Regions from separate parts of the Homo sapiens genome. Here all the other regions are linked to region 1. The links are contacts of gene promoters, found by promoter capture Hi-C in blood cells and fetal thymus (Javierre and others, 2016). All regions are on one chromosome and are shown on one strand. Each heading gives the region's core, a stretch centred on a gene start or on the middle of the fragment in contact. The rest is flanking DNA. Distances are from core to core; before and after follow the strand shown.

Region 1 (2,700 bases), core at 44-2,543:
TGCCAGGAGACGAGGAGGCCGCGGATCTTCTGTCCACCTGGGAGCAAGCCTGCAGCTTGGGACCCTCCTGGGACCCTGCACCCGCCAGTGCCCTGCCCTCCTGGGCTCTCATGGGAGTGAAGGAGGGTGGGCTCTGTAGGAGTTAAAGAAAGAGGAAAGAAACATGAAAAGCGGCTCAACAAAGGCAGGTTTATTTTGGAGAATAAACCTGAAAGGGACTTCTGGCCGATTTTGGTCAGGAGCCATCTCTCCTACAGACTAAGGATCTTTAAGGGTTTAGGAAGTGGGGAGCTTATCGCAGGCTCGGAATGTTTCTATGTGAGGGAAAGTTTATTGCGGGCTTGGAATGTCTCTGGTCGGAGGGGAGGTTATCTCGAGGTTGGCATGTTTCTGATTGGAGATGTTATTTGTGGTTTACGGTCGTGCTGACATTAGCTATTGGGCTGATGTGTTTTGGGCTGGATTTAGGCAGCTTTTTAATCAAAGGGAACCTAAAATGGCGGTGTTTGTCCAAGAAGGCCATACTCCTGCTCTGTCCCGCTCCAGCCCTTGGGGGCCCCTCGGGCTCTTCTCTTGGATGGTGTGTGAATGGGCACATGTGGAGGGGCTGGTCCAGCTCTGCCTGCCTCTGGCCATCCAAAGGAGGGACAGCAGGGCCTGGGCAGCAATGCCGGCCTTGGAGCCCCGGGGCTGTGGAGGCTGCTTGACAGGACACGGAGCCCCCTCTGTGCTCAGGTCGTGGAGGGCCTCGGGCACTACGGTCTGCCAGGCACCACATGTCACAGCTACTCAAACACCCAGGGCCGCCACGGAGGGCCAATGGCCGCAGGATGGCTCAGGACCCGCCCCACCCCTGTCGCTGCCTTTCTGGCTGCCCCCTAGTCCCTGGACAGGCGCTCCCCAGCCCCAAGCAGGCCCCAGCCAATCTCCTGCCCAGGCAGGAGCTCCCCCTGCCGCCCTCACAGACCTCACCTCTTCCTACACGTTTCCAAGGCCGCGCCCCGCCCCGCACCCCGCCAGGCCCCGCCCCGCACCCCGCCAGGCCCCGCCCCGCACCCCGCCAGGCCCCGCCCCGCACCCCGCCAGGCCCCGCCCCCACCCCGCCAGGCCCCGCCTCTCTCTCCGACCCTGGACAGTCCCCGGGACCCACCCCGCCCCCAGGTCCTGCCCCCGCCCGCCTCCGCGGGGCCTCCCACCCTCCCGGGCAGACTCCACTCCCGCCCCCTCCCCGTGGGTGCCCCCGCCGGCCCCGCCCTCCCAGGCTGCCCCCGGCGCCCCGGGCCTCCTCCGCGCAGTCCCTGAGTCCCGCAGGCCCTGCGTCCCCGCTGCACACCCCCGTCCACTCCCGTGGTCCCCGGTCCGGCATGGCGCGCGCGGTGGGGCCCGAGCGGAGGCTGCTGGCCGTCTACACCGGCGGCACCATTGGCATGCGGAGTGAGCTCGGCGGTGAGTCCGAGACCCTGGGCGGGGTAGGCCTCTGGACCTGGCCGCGACCGGGAGCCTCGGACCCTCCTGCACCCACGGGGGTCGTTGGGGAGTCAAATCCGCGCCTGGATGGGGGGTGCGGGCTGAGGTCGCTCTCCTCCGGTTCCGGCCACCGGCGTCCCCACGCATGGAGCCCCGACCTGGACAGAGGAGATTGCGGTGGGTTCTCGCCGTCGCGGTGCTCCCGGGAGCGCCCTGCGACCCTGGGGCCAGGCCCCCTGTGCTGCCGCTGCGCCCCTGAGGGCCAGCGTCCTGAAGTCCTGGAATATGGGGCGGGAGGGCCCCAGGGCATTGGCCTGCCGCTCCTGCTCTGGACACAGAAGGCTTAGGAGGCTGCCCTGGAGAAGGCTTAGGAGGCTGCGAGGACCCCTCAACTGCGACACCCAGGAGGGTGTCCCCGTCCCCTGGGGTCCTGGTCAGGCAGCAGTGGTTGGCACGATACTGGGGCTACCTGGCATCTGCGGGGACGCACGTGTTCACACCCGAGGTGGCCTCAGAGCCCTGCTTCCTCTGCCCCTGTGTGGACCTGGTTGACCAGAGACCAGCGATTGCGTCTGGACTGAGTTCTGCCTGGGTGGGGTCAGGGCCTGGGACAGGCACCGAGCTCTGTGGTACTCCAGCACAGTGCTGCCAGCCTGGGCTGGGCACAGGAAGGATGGTAGCTTGGGGAGCCTGAGGCCACCGGGATGGGGAGAGGACGGTTGCACTGGAGCCTCCAGAATGCCTGGGTGTTCCCCAGGAGGGCAGGACACTGCCTGGGGCCCCCAGATGGGCTCTGCTGTGATGTGGGGCCTCCCTTGGGGCCAGGACAGCCCCCTCGCCCCGTCTTGAACCTGTTTGCGACCCTCCATGGGCCACTGCCTGCCTTTCCCTCAGGAGCCCTTTCCACTCCTCCTCCTCCCACTCCCTGCTGCCCTGGCCCCTCCCCACACTCCTGCTTGTGTCCAGCGCAGCTCTCTCTCCTGGGACGGCTGGGACCCTCTCCGGCTCTGCCAGAGCCCAGGGCCTCCCCTGGCATGACCAGAACATTCTCTTGTCCCTTGCCCATCTGCCAACCACTTCCCCGCCCCTCCTATCCCCACCCCCTCTCACGGCCTGTTCCCTGGCAGCTGCCCCTCCTGGCCACCCCTTTCTGCTGAAGTGGCTGCTCAGAAGCCACCAGCACTCTGTCGGTGCTCTCAGATTCCACCCACCACACTGTGGCCGGTGCAGACC
Region 2 (2,700 bases), core at 66-2,565, 280 kb before region 1:
AAATAGGTAAACTTTACGGCACATAAATTATAACACAATGAAGCTGTTTTTAAAAAGTAGGATATATAAAACTTCTAGAAAAGGAATTCAGAAACTTGACTTACATGGTACAAAGAACCCTGGAATAGGAAGCCCAAGTTCTATCCTTAGCTATGGCATTGACTGCTGCAACTGGCTGGGGAAGCTGCTCCTTAGTCTATCTCTGGGTCTTGGTTTCTTGGCAAGAACTCAGCAGATAATATGAAACACATATTTGCAGGAAAATGGCTCTCAGGCTTTTCTGGCCCAACCCAATCAGGTAAAGTATTAGATCCCCCAGCTCACCTATACCATCTACTACTTCTTTCTGGTGGAAAAGGAGCTCAGGGATAACAAAAAATAACTGAAGAGAAATAAGGTGATAAAAGCTATACTAAATTTTAGTAACTTGCAATAACTCACTTGGTAGGTTATGAGTAAATAGCTCATAAAAGCCACAGAAAGGATCAGTTGGGGTGAGGGTGGGTGAACACCAGGAAGACCCCTTTAGCTTTCCAGCAGGCCACGCACCCCAAAATGAGAATTGATGCTAAGGTCCCTTCTGGCCCTGATTGCAACTCAGTTCACCAATTTAAAATCTCAGAAACATTAGAGCTGTAAGGAAAACTAAGTCTAAGCCATCACCCTAAATGCTTCATCTCACTTTCCTCAATTAGCCTCTCAAAGACTGAAAAACACACCTGGGAGTTGCTGTCATCCACACAGAAAAAGGAGAATAAAATAAAGGATTGGCTCAACTCCCTTCTCTCTCATACTCCACAAACAATCCATTAGCAAGACTGTCAACCTCGTACCCAGAAACTGATAACTCGTCTCCCTGGCTACTACCCAAGCCCGAGCCACCACCACCTCTCAGAAAGGATGTCTGCAAGAGCAAACTCATTCATCTGTTTCCACTCTCACCCTTCAGATACATCACTTCATTCAAAACCTTCCCGTGGTTTCCTCTCTGAGAATAAATTTCAAAGTCCTAACTATTGTCTAAGAGGCCCTGCAAGACCTGCAACACACACATGCATACCTCTCTGATCTCAGTGCTTACCACACTCTTCATCCCTTCTGCCTCCCTCAACAGGGCAAGCCAACTCCTGCCTCAGGGGCTTTGCACTTGCTATTCTCTGCATAGACCGCTTCACTCAGCTACTGACATTGTATTACCCTCTTCTTTCAGGCCTCTGCTGGAATGGTGTCTTAGCAAGGAAGCTTTCCTTAACCGAGAGTCTACCTAAAATAGCACTACTCCATCCCTCTGTCCTCCTACCCTGGTTTATGTATTTCTGCTTAGCACTCAACCACCACCTGATCTATGTATATATTTGTTTATCCTCTGTCTGTTGTCACTAGAACACATAAGCTTCTTGAGAGCAGAGTTTCAGTTAATTACCTGCTGTGTCAGTAGTGCCTGAAGCAGTGCCTGGCACGTAAGAAGCACTCAATAAACTCCCCCAATTATACGTAAAATGTCCCTTTTTTTTGAGACAGAGTATCACGCTGTTGCCCAGGCTGGACTGCAGTGGCGCGATCTCGGCTCACTGCAAGCTCTGCCTTCCGGGTTCACGCCATTCTCCTGCCTCAGCCTCCCAAGTAGCTAGGACAAAAAGTGCCTGCCACCACGCCCGGCTAATTTTTTGTATTTTTAGAAGAGACGGGGTTTCACCATGTTAGCCAGGATGGTCTCGATCTCCTGACCGTGTGATCCATCCACCTTGGCCTCCCAAAGTGCTGGGATTATAGGCGTGAGGCACCACACCTGGCCACGAAATGTCTTTTTATAGTAGGTTTCTTGAATCATGACAGGTAGGTGTTTGCCTGTTTTCTCATCTTCAAGTTCTCTGTAGAAAAGACAATATTTTACCCCTCTAATCACTGAATTAGTCCACATCAAAGAGAAGAAAAATATTCTTAAAAAAAGTTAGTGTAAGGCTGGGCACAGTGGCTCATGCCTATAATCCCAGCACTTTGGGAGACCAAGGTAGACAGATCATTTGAGGTCAGGAGTTCGAGACCAGCCTGGCCAACATGGCGAAACCCCATCTCTACTAAAAATACAAAAAAAAATTAGCTGGGCGTGGTGGCACCTGCCTATAATCCCAGCTACTCAGAGGCTGAGACAGTGGAATCCCTTGAACCCAGGAGGCAGAGGTTGCAGTGAGCCAAGATCACGCCACTGCACGCCAGCCCGGGCGACAGTGACTCTATCTCAAAAAAAAAAAAAAAATTAGTGTGAAAGTCAGGAGCCTTGAACATAACTATGTGGTATTCGGCAGATTTCACTCAAACCTAGAGAAACAATGGATGTCCCTTGCTCTAAAGCAGGGGTGTCCCAACTTTGGGCTTCCCTGGGCCACACTGGAGAATTGTCTTGGGCTACACATAAAATACACTAACACTAATGATAGCCAATGAGTTAGAAAAAAAGATCATTAAAAAACATATATATATCATGATGTTTTAAGAAAGTTTACTAATTTGTGTTGGGCTGCATTCAAAGCTGTCCTGGGCCTCCTGTGGCCCGGTGCCATGGGTTGGACAAGCTTGAGCTAAAGCTTCTTTCCACAAGGTGGCACTGCAGGGTAACGGGGGTGAGTTCAGCACTACCCCCTTCCCCTGACACAAATTTTAGGGATGAAGAATTAACTCCAAGGAAAATAAAGGTACAGT
Region 3 (2,700 bases), core at 170-2,669, 460 kb after region 1:
TGCTCTAATGGCATCCCACAAATTCTAATATGTTTTCATTTTAGTTAAATATAAATACTTCCTAAATTATATTTTAATTTATTTTTTGACCATTGATTATTTATAAATGTGTTATTTAATTAAGTATTTAAGGTTTTTACAGATTTCCTTTAGTTATTGATTTCTAATTTCAATCCACTGTGGTCAGAGAAAACACTTTTGTATAGTTTGAATGCTTTTTAATGTACTGAGACTTATGGCCCATAATACAGTGTATCTTGGTAAATGTTCTGTGTGCACTTAAGAAGAATGTATATTCTGCTCTTGTGTGGAGTGTCTTATAAATGACAATTGGGTCAAATTGATTGACAGTGTTCAAATCTATTTTTCATTAGTTTTTCCTACTTGTTCTATCAATTATTGAAAGAAGACTGTAATGTTCGTTTGTCTATTTGTCCTCGTAGTTCTATCAGTATTTGTTTCAGGTGTTTTGAAACTCTATTGTTAGGTTCATCAACGTTTATGATTGATAACTCTTCTTGATTAACTGACATCTTGGTCATTATGGAAATGACCTTCTTTATACCCCAACAATATTGTTTGTTCTGAAATCTACTTGGATATTGGTATAACCATACCAATTTTCTTTTAACTAATGTTAGTATAGTACATATTTTCTCATACCTTTACTTTAAATGTATATGTGTCTTTACAGCTAATATTTGTTTCTTATAGGCAGCATATAGTTAGGTCTTGCTTTTTTATCCAATGTTAAAATCCTTATCTTTTAATTTGGGTGTATAGGCCATTTTTACTTAATATGAATGTTGATATGATCTATTAAATTCTATTTGTCCCAATTTGATTTATAAGGCAGGATTTGAACAGATATTTAACCAAAGATGATATCTGAATGGCCAGTGAGCATGTTGGAGGATTCTCAACTTATTTTTCCATTACAAAAATGCAAATTAAAACTACAATGACATACAGCTGCACACTACTTAGAGGGGCTAAAGTGGCCGCCCTCACCTGGTGCTGGTGAGAATGTGGATGGACTAGGGCTCTCATTCACTGCTGGTAAGAATGTAAAACAGTGCAAGAACTTCGGAAAATAGTTTGGCAGGTTTTTTTAAAAGTTAAACATGCACCTGCCATATGACCCAGCCATTCCACTCATAGGTATTTTTACCCAAGAGAAAGGAGGTTTTTCTATACATATATCTGTATATCGATGTTACATCAACTTCATCTGAAATTGTCCAAACCTGGAAACAACTAAAACGCCCACCGACAGATGAAGAGAGAAATTGCTCCTCTATCCATACAGTGGAACATACTCAGCAACAGACGGATGAACTGTTGATACGTGAGACAACATGGAGAAATCTCAAAATAGTTATTCTGAGTGAAAAAACAGACAAAAAAGGGAGTACATATTTCATGACTCTATGTGTGTAAAATTCTAGAACACGCAAACTAATCCGTAGTGACAGAAAGCAGATCCATGGTTGCCTGGGGAGATGAAGCCACAGGAGATAGGGAGGAAGGAGAAAGGGAGTTCGAAAGCCAAGAAGAGGCTTTAGGAGCGGGGATTTGTACATCTTGATTGTGGTGACGCTTCACAAATGTATATATATGTCAAAACGTATCAAATTGTCCATTTTTAATATGTGTCACTAATTGTATGCCAATTACACCCCAAAAAAGCTGTTTTTCAAAAATCCAACTTAAACTTAGAATTTACCACCAAAAGAATACAAATAAGGACTAGGCCTTCCAAAACACTAGAGAAAAAATAAAATAGTAAAGAAAACAGCTCACAAAGCCAAAGATAGGGAAAGAAAAAGGATAACAAAGCATAAATAACAGATGTATCAACAAACATGTCTGTTTTGACAATAAACACTATTTAAAGAAAACCATCCAAATATACACTCCTCACAAAGGGTACACGTAAAATAAAATACTTAAATGTTAAAAAGAAAAGGAAAGCAAATATATGTTAGGCAAGCATAAACAATAAGAAAGAGAGTTGGTAAAATGAGTATCAGATAAAGCCAAAAAGCACTAAAAGAGACAAAGAGTAATTTGATTCTGAGGAACAATTAAAGACCCAATGAGGGCACAGCAACGATTAACCTTTAAGCAGGGAATAATTTATCATCCAAATCTACAAAGCAAAAACTGTAAGACATACAACTGGAAATTAGCAACAAAAAGGCAAATGTTAGCCCCAAGGATCAAGCTATATAAAGGCACACTTTGTTTAATTGTGTCCATTTTTAATTTGAATGGTGAGATTGTTTTGAATGAGTGGGAGAAAATTTACATCCTCCAACAGCGACTGTGAGACACAGCTTGAGGAGTGCATAGGGAACCCTTAGCCCTCCCTCCCCACCTGCCCAGCCCTACTTTGGGCCACGAGGAGAGGAGGCAGAGCAGAGACTGTCTTCAGCCATGAGAGTGATGGTGTGTGAGAGACTATTCCTTCTCCTAGTGGCAAACCCAGCTCAGAGCTGGCTCTTCTTTCTCCCTAGAGCCCAGGTCTCCAGCCCAAGGAACCGCCTCACCTTGTCATCCCAGGAGGGTTGGTGCCCACTTATCTGCAGCTTCCTGACCCAAATAGCCAGACCTTCCACAGGTTTGCCTACAAGAGGGCTAGTGCGTCCTGCAACTCAGATGCTTTTCCATCAAAATAAATGCCCATATAGAAGGAGT

Evidence for each region. The method cuts DNA at HindIII sites, captures the fragments that hold promoters and counts their contacts. A CHiCAGO score of 5 or more calls a contact.
Region 2: a contact is called between a fragment that was not itself captured here and the fragment with the promoter of ASPG in region 1, in 1 of 17 cell types (naive B cells). The highest score is 6.0, in naive B cells.
Region 3: a fragment that was not itself captured here is called in contact with the fragment with the promoter of ASPG in region 1 in 3 of 17 cell types (endothelial precursors, activated CD4 T cells and non-activated CD4 T cells); the score reaches 7.6 in endothelial precursors.

Annotation. Positions count from the first base shown.
Region 1 is chr14:104,084,407-104,087,106 of GRCh38, forward strand. ASPG (asparaginase) reads left to right here and starts at 1,294. Exons shown (of 16, transcript NM_001080464.3): 1 at 1,294-1,446. The coding sequence starts at 1,365. The HindIII fragment of the contact is 21,966 bases long and covers 1-2,700 here.
Region 2 is chr14:103,805,999-103,808,698 of GRCh38, forward strand. All of the region lies in intron 1 of PPP1R13B (protein phosphatase 1 regulatory subunit 13B), which reads right to left. Among named protein-coding and RNA genes, the nearest start is that of PPP1R13B, 40 kb to the right of the region's middle. RefSeq lists an enhancer at 895-994. The HindIII fragment of the contact is 151 bases long and covers 1,241-1,391 here.
Region 3 is chr14:104,540,751-104,543,450 of GRCh38, forward strand. It overlaps LOC124903395 (a long non-coding RNA gene), which reads right to left and starts at 1,048. Exons shown (of 2, transcript XR_007064361.1): 1 at 1,012-1,048. The HindIII fragment of the contact is 3,308 bases long and covers 1-2,700 here.